Linked DNA regions of Homo sapiens: region 2 is linked to region 1. Evidence: promoter capture Hi-C in 16 types of primary human blood cells and fetal thymus (Javierre and others, 2016). All regions are on one chromosome and are shown on one strand. Each heading gives the region's core, a stretch centred on a gene start or on the middle of the fragment in contact. The rest is flanking DNA. Distances are from core to core; before and after follow the strand shown.

The links. Contacts are between HindIII fragments. The CHiCAGO score rates a contact against its expected background, and 5 or more counts as called.
Region 2: a contact is called between the fragment with the promoter of MZB1 here and a fragment that was not itself captured in region 1, in 1 of 17 cell types (erythroblasts). The highest score is 5.7, in erythroblasts.

What each region holds. Positions count from the first base shown.
Region 1 is chr5:138,591,486-138,599,455 of GRCh38, reverse strand. No RefSeq gene overlaps it. Among named protein-coding and RNA genes, the nearest start is that of HSPA9, 20 kb to the right of the region's middle. The HindIII fragment of the contact is 1,068 bases long and covers 4,433-5,500 here.
Region 2 is chr5:139,384,551-139,392,520 of GRCh38, reverse strand. It overlaps MZB1 (marginal zone B and B1 cell specific protein), which reads left to right and starts at 2,608. Exons shown (of 4, transcript NM_016459.4): 1 at 2,608-2,841; 2 at 3,936-4,060; 3 at 4,390-4,500; 4 at 4,600-5,054. The coding sequence starts at 2,665. The coding sequence ends at 4,756. It overlaps PROB1 (proline rich basic protein 1), which reads left to right. Exons shown (of 1, transcript NM_001161546.2): 1 at 1-1,929. The coding sequence ends at 487. It also overlaps a transcript of SLC23A1 not described here and a transcript of SPATA24 not described here. RefSeq lists silencers at 1-151, 1,422-1,471 and enhancers at 487-781, 2,442-2,851, 2,828-3,375, 3,376-3,923, 3,924-4,471 and 3 more. The HindIII fragment of the contact is 10,488 bases long and covers 1-7,685 here.

The DNA.
Region 1 (7,970 bases), core at 3,717-6,216:
CACCACGCCTGGCTAATTTTTTTGTATTTTTGGTAGAGACAGGGTTTCACCATGTTGGCCAGGCTGGTCTTGAACTGAGCTCAAGTGATCCACCTGCCTTAGCTTCCCAAAGTGATGGGATTACAGGCATGAGCCACCATTCCTGGCACTACCCCTATTTTATTCCCTCCCACAAAATATGTTGGGAGAAAAGTTATGGAAATGGATAATAATTATCCAAAATTTTCCTTTTCACCTCTAAATCAAAACACAAGATTCCAGATCTCTTGAGAGTAAGAATCAGGAGCCACTCTGATTCTAGAAATAGTGAGTCAACTAAGTGCTTTGAGGTCAGAGATATTTGAGGTGTATCCCTACATCTTTGGGAGCATCTCGATAAACATTTACTGTGCTCTCTGTCTCATTTTCTCTGGGGATCACTATCAAAATAGACGGATCAAGGTACCACCCAGTGGCCTTGCCAGAGAGGGTTCTTTGCCCCCTCACCAACTCCCTTCCCATCCTCACCACTAGTGGGAAGGAGGTCTTCAACATAACGGTGCATTGAAGTTAAGCTCTAAGGGGTGACAGAAGCAATGAGGAACCGTCTTGGAGGTGCTTTACTGGAAGAAAGTAAGAATCCACCTTCATCCTTCCAAAATAGAGCCAGACCTTGGCCAGGCGCTGTGGCTATAATGCCAGCACTTTGGGAGGCCAAGGTGGGCGGATCATCTTAGGTCAGTAGTTCAAGACCAGCCTAGCCAACATGGAGAAACCCCATCTCTACTAAAAATGCAAAAATTAGCCAGGCGTGGTGGCACACACCTGTAATCCGAGCTACTCAGGAGGCTGAGGCAGGAGAATCGCTTTAACCTGGGAGGCAGAGGTTGCAGTGAACCAAAATCACACCACTGCACTCCAGCCTGGGCAACAGACCGAGACACTGTCTCAAAAAATTAAAATTAAAATTAAAAAATGGAGCCAGACCCAATCTCACAGGCCCTAATAATGAAGCCTGGACTCAGAGAAGAAAGCAGGGGGTAGAAAGGAAGGAGGAGGAAATTTAAAGGGAACAATTGCAAAAAGATTGAAAAAGAAAGCCCCAAGAACAAAATAGCATCATGAAGAGGCCAAGAAGCTGAGCAAAACATAGCAGAGGGATGACAAGACCTGAGTACCTGCCGCCTTTCCTCAGAGCAGCCGGTTCCCTGGGCAGGTGCTGGGCTTCTTCCAGAGAGCTCCGGACCCTGCCCAGGGGAGTGTGGCGCTCAGGGCGCAGCTGGCTCCCAGGCAGAGCACAGACCTACCCGGCTGACTGTCTAGTCATGGCTCAAAGGTTCTTCCAGTCAATGTGCTTCCTTTACTGGTTAAACCTATGGAACCTCAGCCTGTGGCTCTCTGCTAACAAGGCTTTTTATACCCTTGCTACCACAGCTGTCTGCCAGATGCCTATTGAAGGAGCCATCTATTGCTAGAAAAACACACTCCACTTCTTTTTCAGTGGGCCTTTACTCCTCTATGCTTTCTGAACATAGAGAGAGGGGCTGTTGTTCCCAATGCTCGTTGTCATTGGGCATTAATCATCACTATACTCACAGGGCTCTCTACAGCCATTTGGGTTGCTCAATACTCTGCCACTTGGGAGAGCGGCTGTATTAGGTCAGGTTCCCCAGAAGCAGAGCCTGAGGTAGGATTCAAGGCACACGATTTATTGAGATGTGGCTTCAGAAGAAAGAGAATGAAGGAAGCAGGGAAGGGTAGGAGAGAAGGATATGGCTGCAACTTTGTGTTTAGCCTCAGCCTGACTCCACTGGGGGGTACTCAAGAGCATAAACAGCACCAAGGAATTGATCCTTTCTTGCAATGAAGGGGCTGGTCTTTGTACCCTCTTGGCTGAAACCTGAAGGGGATGGGTACAGGAGGGTACAAAGGGTCTCCTACACACTGGGAGCAATTTTCTGGAGGCGGGGACATCTGTGAGCTATTGGAGTCCCAGATAACAGCTGGGGGATGGATACACTGAAAAGGTAAAGGGAATCTGGGCAGGGTACCAGCAGCATCCAATACAGCTACACGTTAGTTGGCCAGGGCTGATGTAACACAATACCATAGACTGGGTGACTTAAACAACAGACATTTATTTTCTTACAGTTCAGGAGGCTAGAAGTCCAAGATGGGGGCAGTAAGAGGGGGAGAGGGGGAGGCAGAGTAGAGAAACCAAGCCCTCTGGTGTCTCTTCCTATAAGGGAACTAATCCCACCCTGAGGGACCCATCTTCATGACCTCACTTTAATCTGACTGCCTCCGCAAAGTCCCACCTCCAAATACCATCTGGGCATTAGGGCTTCAACATACGAATTTTGGGGGCACACAGTTCAGTCCATAGCAGCTACCATTTTCTAAACAGGAAAGCCAGCTTTGTTCCATGAGAGCCATTTCCCCACCAGTCATTTCCCTGCCACCTAAATTCCTCTGGGAACCCCATTTGTTGACTGATATGGAAGAGTTAAGTTTAAACCCCAGCTAGCAGAAACAGGCCTAGGATCTCCCAATGGCTTCTCTTTCTTCTGCCTTAGCAGATGCTCTGCTTGATCTGGGAAAATCAGGCTGGGAATGCTTGCAAGCCTCAGTCCTTGGTAAGTATTCTGGAGGTGACAGCTGAGGCATGTGCATGCACTCCTACCCAGCTCAGGCTTTGAAGCTCGGGAGCAGAGCCATTAACATTCTCTTCAGCCCACAGATAGTTCTCTTCAGCCCTTGTTGGTCTCATTTTCTTCCCTCCTGACTTTTTCATCAAGAGCAGCAGCTTTCTTGTTCCTAGAACCTTTTCTTCTCTTCAAAGAGCTCTGGTCCCCAGGGAGGCCTGTGGCAGAGAGACTTGCCAGACACTTCTGGGTTCCCAATGAAGAGGAGACCATGCCACCTGCTTTGCAGCTAAGAACCCAAGCACCCCCGCTCCCTTCACAGATGCCTTCAGGATTGAGCAAAGGACCAGCCAGGGGGGCCCACTTGCCCCCTGGTTTCCTGGGCATCTGCAGGGGTTAGGCCGTGGGCTAGAGGGACTATCCTGCTGGGTCCTCAGGTCCACTCCTACTTCTGAATTTGGGCTATTTAAATAGAGGAGGTCAGAGAGGATAGTCACAGAGAGTAGGAATCCACCCACTGCCCCACCTCCATTCTGAAGCTATGAGAGGAGGTGGGGAGGGCTCCTTTCACAGAAGACCTCCTGTAGGCTGGAGAGGGGCAGAGAAGAGTTCTCAGTGGGAGCACCGTTCACGCCTGTGTGATTTATTAAGAGCTACTATCTATCAAGCTGTGTGGGGGGGTGCTTAGAGAATAGGAAAAAGTAATATCGGGGAAACTTAAATTCTACTAGCCCCAAAGCAAATTTCCTAAGCAGTCTACAGATGTTAGTAAAAGGGACTCCAGTGCTTGCAATTCAGACAGAGGAGAGTCAAGCAGATGGTAATTCACCATCATTGTCTAAACTTTCCTCTTAGGGCTGCCCTTTCTCCAAGAGCCACTGGTTGTATCCCTGTTCCCCCATGAGGTTTTGCAGGGGTGAGCGAATTGTGCCATATTCCTCCACTGCCCAGGACTTGGTTCTGTCATCTCTGCATCTTCCCTGCCCCATGCCCTACAGTTGTCTCAGGAATCCGAGCACTCACTCCTTACAGTTGCTTCTGCAGTGATTCCAGAGAGATACAAGAAAGCAACCTCCCCAGGAGCATATTTTATCAAACTCCTGTGCAGTCAGAACAACAGTTATGGCAATGAGGTGCCATCATTTTTATTCATTTCCCTGTCCCCTCTGGCTGCAGAGCTGGGCCCAGCATCACATTGCACACCAGCCCAGGTAGGCCCAGCAGCACACAGAGGACTGTGACTCCATCTGCTGGCTTGACAGCAGCTCCAGATCAGAGCCTTTGAATTCCTTGCAAGGCAGGCTCTGGCTCTGAACTGGAAGACCAAGAAGTCTTTTCATCATGATAAAGTAAAGATATTCAGCCATTTTGTCAAAGGCGATGACATCTACCCCTCCCACCTTAAACCCATAGACACAGATACAAATACGCCAGGGAAACACTGAGCCAAGGATTGTTGATCTCTCTGACAGGAGTTAGGGAAGGCAGCCCAGTAGCCACTGGCTGTGCTGTGCATAAGCATTGCTTTGGGGGCTATAATAGAGACCTTCATACAACAAGAGGACAGCTCCAAACCGAGGTAGGGGTGGGATCAGAAAAACACTAATGAAATTAGCGTTTTCTTCTTTCCATCATGCCCTTCACCTCTACTTGCCTTCTTTATGAAAGAGGCTTCCTCTGTAGATTACTTAACTATTCCCAAGGGCCTGTGGTCCATGCAGAGTCATCTTTATCCTCAAGATTTCTTACTGCTCTTACTGAGCAAGGAAAGGATGAGGGCCCACTTTAGAGATGAGAACAATTAAGCTTCCTTGAGAGAAGACAGGAGAACAATAATATTACCTACCTATACTCAGAAAATAACCACTTGGTTCCTGAAATCCCTTGTTTGATGACATTGTGTTATTTGGAAATTTCAGTAAGGCTCCAATATGCAGTACCCATGTCATACCAAAGTGAGGCGCCAGCAATGATGCAAATTTTCATAGGAAACAGTTGACAATCACTTATGGGACTCTCAAATTTTCACCCCTATCAAGGGGAAAAAGAAATTGTTGGATATTAAGAGAATGTTTCTGAAAAGGATTTATTCGGTGCAAAGTATTCGTGTGCTATGGGTACCCCCTCCAAAAGAAAGAGGATACCTGTGTTTCACTACAAGCCTAATGAGAAGAGCTTGGAAGAGACTCCTAGGAGAGTTTGATATGTGTCTTCTCCTGCAGTTAGCAGGACAGAGTGGTCTAATTTCTGACTCCAGCCCAAAAAAATGTAGAAGCCACCATATGTGCTAGCAGCTGCTTTGTGATGCTGGGATTTGTTCAGAGCTTGTGTGGGCAAAAACCTGTTTCTCACAGACCTGAGGTGGGGCACATGCATAGGGGGATGTTTTGGAGAGCATTTTAGATCCTGACCAATAGGAATGTCAGAGGGCAAACAGGCCTGAGCAGAAGAGAAACTGGAAATGGACTGTTACATTATGAGGGTCTGGAGAGGGCGAAAGCAACTGACAAGAGGGGAGTCCACTTGCCCAGGCCACTGGGAACTGCTGCAGCAGCAGCAGCAGCAGCAGCAGCAGCAGCAGCAGCAGCAGCAGCAGCAGTGTGTGTGTGTGTGTGTGTGTGTGTGTGCGCAGATCTCTGAAGAACCCACAAAAGTGCTTTATGAGAAAGCTAGATTTAAACACTGGCCACACTGGGAGGTAGGAGAGTGCAAAGCCAGCTTTGACATGAGACAAGTACCATATTTTCTGTCGCCTCTTAGTTTCTTGTGCTCTAATTCTAGAAGGATCAGAAACTTCAGAAGAGAAAGACTACACCCTTTCTTTTCATTTGCAGCAGGCCCCAGATAGGAAGGACAAATAGCAAATAGCTTAAGCTTCGAAAACCAAGCAGAAACATTGATAATACCAAGCTGAACATTTTAAGTGCCTAATTGAAATCATGCTGTACTGCGTACAGTGGCTATAAGGCTTCCTAACACCTCCAAGGGATCCTGAAAAGTATTTGTCCAGGAGCACACTTAAGACCATCACTACAAAGCAGGTTTAAAGAAACAGTGGGGCCAGGCGCAGTGGCTCACGCCTGTGATCTCAACACTTTGGCAGGCCGAGGTGGGCAGATTGCTTGAGGTTAGGAGTTCGAGACCAGCCTGGCCAACACAGCGAAATCCCGTCTCTACTAAAAAAAAAAAAAATAGCTGGGCATGGTGGCAGGCACCTGTAATCCCAGCTACTCAAGAGGCTGAGGCAAGAAAATTGCTTGAACCCTGGAGGCAGAGATTGCAGTGAGCCAAGATCACACCACTGCACTCCAGCCTCGGCAACAGAGCAAGACTCTGTCTTGAAAAAAAAAAAAAGAAAAGAAGAAACAGTGGGAGCTGAAAACAAAGTTTCTGTTATGATTATACCCCATCAGTACTGCTTGTCATTGTTCCAGTTGCAGTTATAAAAGTTGTTCTTCAATCTTTATTTTAAAAATAATTAAAACACCAAAGGACTCATAAGAAGAGGAGCTATTGTCAGAGCTAACAGTTCTCCTTGGCTTAACAATGTTTCAGTGTCCTTGTGGAAAATGAGGCTTCCAGCTCAGCCCACTTCTCCTCTTTCTTCTTCATTTCCTGAAGACTCTCTCTTCCCTCCTCCTGTTACTCTGCAGTATATAGCACAGTTCTGAGTACAGCCACTTTTAACAACATCATAAAACTCCCTCAGTCCTGCCCCCAACCCTGCCCATCTTCAGGAATACCATAAGGACTCAGAAGTCATCTCGACTGAGTTTCAGAGTCTCCTCCATGGTAACACTTGCTGCCATCTTCTCAATTTTACCTCTTTTTTTTTTTTTTTTTTTTGAGCCAGAGTCTCACCCTGTTGCCCAGGCCGGAGTGCAGTGGCACAATCTTGGCTCACTGCAACCTCCGCCTCCCAGGTTCAAGGGATTCCCCTGCCTCAGCCTCCCCAGTGGCTGGGATTACAGGCACGTGCCACCGCGTCCAGCTAATTTTTGTATTTTTAGTAGAGACGGGGTTTCACCATGTTGGCCAGGCTGGTCTCGAACTCCTGACCTCAGGTGATCTGCCTGCCTCGGCCTCTCAATACCTCCTCATTCTTTCCCTACAGTTGGGGAATGAGATACATACGCTTACACCCACATACAAAACACCATACAAAGAAAATTCTATACATGGATTCTAGCCCCTTAGAAATGTACTACTTAAGACAGTTAACATTAAACAGACAAGCATAAACATATAAACAATAGAGAAACAACATTAAACCAATACATGAATGAACAGCAGGGCAACTTCATGATTGAGATGGCAAGCAGGCGGCCAATCGATGAATGTTTACTGAACAGCTCCTAGGTGTCAGATGTTGGGCCAGGTTTTGGCAATAAAAATTTGAACAAAACAGACATAGTCCCTGCATACATGAAGAATCAAAACACTAGAGAAGATAAATACTAAATAATTTTTTACTAAAAAGTAGCTTATAGGCCAGGCACAGTGGCTTACGCCTGTAATCCCAACACTTTGGGAGCCAAGGTGGGCAGATCACCTGAGGTCAGGAGTTTGAGACCACCATGCCCAACGTGGCAAAACCCCGTCTCTACTAAAAATACAAAAATTAGCTGAGCATGGTGGCAGGTGCCTGTAATCCCAGCTACTCAGGAGACTGAGGCAGGAGAATCACTTGAACCTGGAAAGCAGAGGCTGCAGTGAGCCGAGATTGCACCACTGCACTCCAGCCTGGGCGACAGAGTGAGACTCCATCTCAAAAAACAAAAAAAAGTATTATAGGTGTAGACAGTGCTGTGGAAGATAATATGCAGGACTGGCCTAGGCCTTAGGAATCTAATCTATTCTGGGGGCTGGAGAAGCTTGCCTATACAAGTGACATTTATGTTGGGACCTGAAGGCTAAATAGGGTTAGACAACTGGCTGGTGGGGAGAAAGTGATCTAGGGAGAAGTGAGGGCCTATGGAAGTGCAGAAGCAACACTTCAAGGACCCGAAAGAAGGCCCGTGTTGCTGCAGTGAATCTATCAAGGAAGGGTTGCCGATATAAGGAGGTTGAAGGGACCAGCAGGAAGCTGGGAGATTTTTTTCTTTTTTAAGAGAATGGATCTCACTATGTCACCCAGGCTGGAGTGTGGTGGCTATTCACAGGCACACCATCATTGCACACTACAGCCTTGAACTCCTGGGCTCCAGTGATCCTCTTCTCAGCACTACAGGTGTGCACCACCACACCCAACTCTGGGTTTTTTTTTGTTTTTTTTTTTTTGAGACAGAGTTTCACTCTTGTCACCCAGGCTGGAGTGCAATGGCACCATCTCGGCTCACTGCAACC
Region 2 (7,970 bases), core at 1,359-3,858, 800 kb before region 1:
CTCGGCGCCTCCCACGGACCGGTCCCCGCAAAGCCCCTCCCAGGGAGCGCGCAGGCAGCCCGGGGCCGCGCCCCTGGGGAAGGTCTTGGTGGACCCCGAGAGCGGCCGCTACTACTTTGTGGAGGCGCCGCGGCAGCCTCGGCTGCGGGTGCTCTTCGACCCTGAGAGTGGGCAGTACGTGGAGGTGTTGCTGCCGCCCTCGTCTCCCGGGCCGCCCCACCGCGTCTACACCCCTCTGGCCCTGGGGCTCGGCCTCTACCCGCCCGCCTATGGGCCTATACCCAGCCTCTCTCTGCCACCGTCCCCGGGCCCGCAGGCCCTCGGCAGCCCCCAGCTACCCTGGGTCTCTGAGGCAGGGCCCCTGGACGGGACCTACTACCTGCCGGTGAGCGGGACCCCCAACCCCGCACCTCCTCTGCTCCTCTGTGCGCCGCCCTCCAGCTCAGGTCCCACCCAGCCCGGCAAGGGTTCATTGTTCCCGCTGTGAGGCCCCGGGCCGATCCCCATGGAGTTGGAGCCCTTGGATGCCTGGGAGGTTCTGGCATCCAAGCCCCTACCCTCCTCTCCTTCCGTCGCCTCTGTCTTTAACCCATCCCAGTCAGTCGTCGGACAGGAAGTGATCTTCAGAGAATGAATCTGAGCCCCGAGGCTGGTGGAGCTGGAGTCACCCAGGAAGTGGCTGCCTACTTCCTCCCCCAACAAAATTATGTATCCCTTTCCCAGGCATTCCCAGGGCGTGGTGTGGTGTGGTGTGTGGGTGTGTGTATATGTGTATATGCGGGCAAGCAAATAGGGAAAGTGAGGCATCCCTGGGCTTGTCCCCAGGAGCCGATCAGAGGAGGTGCTGTGGCTGCCGTGGGGCAGCAGGAACGGGAGCAGCAGGAGACAGGGCGGGGAACTGTCTGCCCTCCCTGATGGTGGGCCCAGCTGAGGTGAGGCTGGCCAGTGCCCCTGGTGAGGTGGCAGGAAGGACTCTGGCTGTCGAGTCTGCTCTTAGGAAGAGGAGCTGAGCTTTGGCCCTGGAGGTTACTGGGGGGAAAGTGGCCAGTACAGCCCAGGCCAGGCTGGCTCCGAGAAAGAGCTAAGGCGGGGGACAGCAGGTGGAGGCAAAGCAAGGAATACAGGGAGGGCCTGGGTTGGGGGTTAGCCTGGAACTTGGGGTGGGAAGATGGGGAGCCTGGCCCTCAGAGCTGAGCTGACTCATTTTTGGGCCAGGGGTGGGGCTTCAGTCCCCCACCCCCTACATCGGGAGTAGGTGAAATGGTCATCAGGAAGCTCTGAGAAGAGGGAGGGTTGGGCTCTTGTCCCACAGGAGCCTCTTGACCCCTCTGTGTGGCCAGAAGGTGGGTTAGGGCCAGCAGTAGAAGCGATACCCCTGGTGGAGTATCCAGAGGGATCTGAAGCTCTTGGCAGGTTCCACTCCCCAGTAACAGATGTGGCAACAATGGCCAGAGAGGGGCTGGCCCTACAGACCAGTCACAGCAAGGGACAGGGCCCAGAGCCTGCACTTCAGTTGCCCTGAGATTCCAGGAGCCTCTGAGGGAGATGAGGGGGGTCTGCATGAGGTGGGAGGTGGTGTGCGTGGGGGTCTGTATATAGTTCTGAACCGGAAATGGCTGGCCCTTGCCAGCCTGGTGTGTGATGTGATGAGTTTGGGAAGGACAGTTTCCATGAGAAGCAGTGGCAGGGATGGGGATGGATGCCTTCGTTGTTCCAGGCCTGTCAGGGGGCCCAGGTCCCTAGCAGTCCCTGCCCTCTGCCCTGGACTGGAAGCTGACTAGGAGAGCTACGAATCAGAACAACTGGCCATTTTCTAGCTGGAGATGCCAGCTCCGATGGCATGGAGGGCCCTGGGGCCACCCCAGGTGTCTTTACCTCATCCTGGTGTGTAATAAATCACTGACCATGGAGCCATCATGGCTGAAATAACTGGTGTGAGGTGCCTGATTTCCTGCCACAGCCTCTCAACACCCTCCACAGTGCCCTTCCACGCCTGGGTATGGCCTGGGTGGAGGGGACCTCAGGGCTAGGGAAGGAGACCATGTGTGTCTTGGAAACACTGTAGCATCCCTGTCTCCCTGAACTTGCCTCCCAGGAGGCTGGCAGCCACACCTCATTCCTTCTGGTGGTTGAGTGGCCAGGGAGCCTTGGGGTCAATCAGGCTTGGGTTTCTCAGCATGGCCCCTCTAGCTATGTGGCCTTGGATTTGTCACCTCTCTCTGAGCCTTTGTGTCGGAAGAGGCAGAATAAACATGACAGTCTCATTTCTCAGAAAGGTCAATGAAACAAAAAAAGATGACGGCAGCCAACCAACTCTTCCCACAAGGCACTCAGCACAGTGCCTGCCACTTGGCCAGATCACAGGATGTGGGCAGTATCGGCCCCTATGTGTTCCTGCCTAGGCCCAGCCCCTCTCCTTGCCTCAGTGCTCCCTATCTGTGAAATGGAGCTGAGATGGCTGGAGCCAGGGTCCAGCTAGAGGACAATGCCCACGTGGCATCTTCGGGGCCCTGGAGGAGGGAGTGGGAGGAGGATGGGAGGGGTGAGGTGTCAGTTCCCCATTGGTCTAGGCCAGGTGTTCTGTGGCGGTCCCCACACCACACAAGCACACACACATCTGCACCTCAACCACAGACTACACTTGCTGAACTGGCTCCTGGGGCCATGAGGCTGTCACTGCCACTGCTGCTGCTGCTGCTGGGAGCCTGGGCCATCCCAGGGGGCCTCGGGGACAGGGCGCCACTCACAGCCACAGCCCCACAACTGGATGATGAGGAGATGTACTCAGCCCACATGCCCGCTCACCTGCGCTGTGATGCCTGCAGAGCTGTGGCTTACCAGGTGAGTCCTTCACCACTGTCACCCTGCCCTGCTCACACCCCTTCTCAAGCCAGACCCCTCCACCCACCTCACATTCCACCACCGGCCTTTGATCCCCAATCCCTACCACTGGGCATCAAGCCACAGATGCAGCCTTTCATATATTCCATGCCTCAGTTTACCCATCTGCCTGCCTAACAGCAGACAATCTGGGAGACCTCCTCAGTATTTTGAGACCCCAGGGAATCACTCACTTGTCCTTAGACTTCTCCCTTTCCAGGCCCATCCTTGAGTCCGGACTCCCTCCCCAACCCTGACGGGGCGGCTTTGGCTATGTGTACATGGTGCAAGTGCACACGTGTGAGCGCCTGCACGTGAGTATGCGTGTGTCTGGCTTCACACACACACCTGCTGAGCATGCCTGCGTGCCAGTGTCTCTGTGAGGTGGGGGCCTGGGAGTACTTGTGTGATTGAATATTGGGCTCCAGTTTTTCTTACCTTGCTCTTGTGGTTTAAAATGGCACGTGCCGGCCGGGCGCGGTGGCTCACGCCTGTAATCCCAGCACTTTGGGAGGCTGAGCGGGGCCGATCGCCTGAACTCAGGAGTTCGAGACCAGCCTGGCCAACATGGTGAAACCCCGTCACTACTGAAAATACAAAATTTTAGCCGGGTGTGGTGGCACATACCTGTAGTCCCAGCTACCTGGGAGGCTGAGGGAGAAGAATCACTTGAACCTGGGAGGTGGAGGCTGCAGTGAGCTGAGATCGTACCACTGCACTCCAGCCTGGGCGACGAACGGCGTGAGACTCTCTCTAAATAAATAAATAAATAAAAATAAAATGACACTTGCCACTGGGCAGGTGTGCCCTGGACGAGGGACCCCAGTGCCCAGGCCTCACCTACCACTTCAGCATTTCTTTCCCATCCCCCATCCCCATCCCAGAGAGCTTTGGGGGCTGGGGGAGGGGCCATGCAACAGCCTCACAGGTGCTTCCTGCTCAAACGGCTCTCTTGCCACTTTATTTTCCCCAGAGACTCTGCTCCTATCCTCCCCACCTCCCCCTAACTGAGCAGCAGTCCTGAGGCCCTGCCTCCCAGTCCCTCCTTGTTCCAGATGTGGCAAAATCTGGCAAAGGCAGAGACCAAACTTCATACCTCAAACTCTGGGGGGCGGCGGGAGCTGAGCGAGTTGGTCTACACGGATGTCCTGGACCGGAGCTGCTCCCGGAACTGGCAGGAGTGAGTTGCCAATCCTGCCCCCCACCTCCCTCCTCCAAGGGCAGGCCTGGTGGGTGGAGATTCCCACTCAGCCGCTCACACAACACACACACTCCTCTAGGACTCTGGTCCAAGGGAGGGGCTGGCTGGGATGAAGTCTGGGCTCTGGAGCTGAGAGCAAGTGGGAGAGCAGAGGGCCAGTGGACAAGGTCACCTTGTGACCTTGGGCCAGGGGCTTTCCCTCTCTGAATTCCACAAATGCCCAGCATGTCCAGCTTGCTGTGGAGATGGGTCTCTCCCTGGCTGGGCTCCTGCCAAAACTGTACTCCTCTCCTCTCCACTGCCACCAGCTACGGAGTTCGAGAAGTGGACCAAGTGAAACGTCTCACAGGCCCAGGACTTAGCGAGGGGCCAGAGCCAAGCATCAGCGTGATGGTCACAGGGGGCCCCTGGCCTACCAGGTGATGCCCGGGGCTTGGGGATAGGATGAAGCTCCTGGAGCCTTGGTTTGCCCCACTGTGGGCTGGGCAGCATCTGAGGCTCCTGCTGGGCTCCCCTAGGCTCTCCAGGACATGTTTGCACTACTTGGGGGAGTTTGGAGAAGACCAGATCTATGAAGCCCACCAACAAGGCCGAGGGGCTCTGGAGGCATTGCTATGTGGGGGACCCCAGGGGGCCTGCTCAGAGAAGGTGTCAGCCACAAGAGAAGAGCTCTAGTCCTGGACTCTACCCTCCTCTGAAAGAAGCTGGGGCTTGCTCTGACGGTCTCCACTCCCGTCTGCAGGCAGCCAGGAGGGCAGGAAGCCCTTGCTCTGTGCTGCCATCCTGCCTCCCTCCTCCAGCCTCAGGGCACTCGGGCCTGGGTGGGAGTCAACGCCTTCCCCTCTGGACTCAAATAAAACCCAGTGACCTCACTTCTTTTCTCTGCAAAAGGTGCTTGTGGGGCTGGGAGTGCAGACATTGGTGTTTCTGCTGATGTCCCTTGTGAAAAAAAAAAAAAAACTCTCAAAATCAATTTTTTTTTTTTGAGACAGTCTCACTCTGTCACCCAGGCTGGAGTGCAGTGTTCTTGGCTCGATGCAACCTCCACCTCCCAGGTTCAGGCGATTCTCCCACCTCAGCCTCCTGAGTAGCTGGGATTACAGGCACCCACCATCATGCCCGGCTAATTTTTGTATTTTTAGTAGAGACGGGATTTCACCATGTTGGCCAGGCTGGTCTTGAACTCCTGACCTCAGGTGATCCGCTCGCCTTGGCTTCCCAAAGTGCTGAGATTACAGGCATGAGCCACCGCGCCCGGCCTTCAAAATGCTTTTTCTATTCTCTCACTCGACAACAGCACAGAAGATGGCTGTGACCGAATGCGTGGGGGCTTTCCCCCACACACCAGGCAAGCAATTCTGCAGCTGACACCAGCTGGGTGCCCTCCAAAATTCAATTCTGGCACTATCTACCTGGAGATAGTGTCAGATCCCACAGGCTGAGGGCTCAGTCCACCATTCTGTCCCCCATTCAGACACCAGTTCCAACTCCAGGCCTCTGGAGCTTCTGGCCTACTGGCTTCAAGATGAGGTTCCCACAACCCCCTCTTTTGAGTTCAACTAATTTGCTAGAGTGGTTCGCAGAGCTCAGAGAAACGTTTACCAGTTTATTATAAAGGATGTTACAAAGGATACAGATGCAGAGATGTGTAGGGCAAGGTATGGGGAATGGGCTCGGAGCTTCCATGCCCTCCATGGATGCAACACCGTCCAGGAACCTCCACGTGTTCAGCTATCCAGAAGATCTCTGAACCCTGCAATTTTGAGTTTCTGTGGATAATTCATTACGTAGGTATGATTCATTAAGCCATTGGCCATTGGCGAACAACTTACCCTCCAACCTGTCTGCCCTCCCTTGACTGGGGATGGGGGGTGAGGGGAGGCTGAAATCCTGCCTTGGTCTCTCTGGTGACCAGCCCCTGTCCTGAAGCTACCCTAGGGGCTGCCAGCCATCAGTCAATCATTAGCACACAAGAAGACATCATTTTGGGGATTCTAAGATTTTAGAAATTGTACTCCAGGAAACAGAGGTCAAAGACCAAATATATATTTCACAATATTACATCCCTCCTACAGAAGGCCAAATTTGCATCCCTACAACTTCCAGAGGTAAGAGGGAGCCATCAATGGTGTGGTGATGTAATCGCCCAAAGGGTTCACCTTGCTCAAGCCTAGACAGAGCCGATTGCTCAAGACAGGGGAATTGCAATAAAGACTAATTAACGCAGAGCTGGCTGTGCAGGAGACCAGCGTTTTACTATTACTCAAATCAGTCTCCCCAAGCATTCAGGGAGCAGAGTTTTTAAGGACAACTTGGTGGATGGCGGGGAAGCCAGTGAGCCAGGAGTGCTGATTGGTCAGGACTGAAATCATAGGGAGTTGAAGCTGTCTCCTTGCCTTGAGTCAGTTCCTAGGTGGAGGCCACAAGTCCCAACGAGCCAATTTATGGATCTGGGTGATGCCAGCTGATCTATCAAGTGCAGGGTCTGCAAAGTATCTCAAGCACTGATCTTAGGAGCAGTTTAGAGAGGGTCAGAATCTTGTAACCTCTAGCTGCATGACTCCTAAACCAAAATTTCTCATCTTGTGGCTAATGTTGCTCCATCCTACAAAGGCAATCTAGTCCTCAGGCAAGAAGGAGGTCTGCTTTGAGAAAGGGCTGTTATTGTCTTTGTTTTAGACTATAAACTAAAAACTAAGTTTCTCCCAAGGTTAGTTCAGCCTACACTCAGGAATGAAGAAAGACAACTTGGAGGTTAGAAGCAAGATGGAACTGATTAAGTTAGATCTCTTTCACTGTCTCAGTCATAATTTTGCAAAGGTGGTTTCAGTGACATCCCAGGTCTTCAGAGCCTTCATGAGAAAAGAGAACCAAGGAAAACTGTGCACGCAGGCCACCTTGTGGCACACCTATTCCAGCCACTCCATGCTATCTGCACCCCTCCGAGAACACACGTCTCACTGGGTCTACACCCAATGGCTGTTCATTTTCCACACTCTGCCTTTGACCCCAGCTGGTATGGATGGGCCCTGGGTTTCTGACCAGCCAGATTCAACATTTTGGTTCTCAGTCCTGCTTTCTCTGGAAATTCTTCTGGCTGGGGCTTTTCCTTAGTAAAGAAGCCCTGGACCCCACCTAGGTCTGGGAACTGGAGATCGGTGGCACCAGAACTTTCAGTTTCGTTTGTGAGTGTCTCTGATCTGGCCAAGCCCTGGGAGAGAGACAGAACATTCTAACCCTCATTTTTAGAAATATTTTTATTTTGCACGAGAGCCATGTGCAGGAAGACAATCTAATCCCCCTTTGACAGATGCAGAAACCGAAACTTAGACAACAGAAGGGGTTTGGGCCAAGTCCCTGGCTGAGTAGTAGTAGGGCTGGGAGGGGATTCAGACTTAGGGGACCGGAGAGGCGGGCTGCTGGGGGAATGGAGGTGCCTGGGGCAGGCCCTGGCCACTCCAGCTTCCCTGGGAGCTGCACTCAGCCCCCTCCATCCTTCACCTGTTCCAGGACCTGCCTGAAGCCCCACCATCCGTGGCCTTCACTCAGGAGAGAAACCCTAGACACCAGGAGGAAAGTCAGGGCCCAAGAAACCCACTAAGCTTTCAGGACAGGGTGTGGAGCCGGGCACCCATGACGTGGACCTGTGTTTCTGTGGGGTGATTAGAGAGGCTGCATCAGCTCTGGGTGTGTGGGCCCCTTCATGCTACTGTGGATCTGGGACCGTGTTCTCCACCTTGTTCTCTATGCGTGTTGTGTGGTTTGGGTTGAATTGAGTGTCCATGGAGCCGTATCTGCAGGGGGTCGGGCTTGGTCTCCACAGCACCCTGGGGAGTTCTGGGAGGAGAAGTTGGAGAGAAAAGTGCTGGGGAGTTGCAGAGGCTTCAAA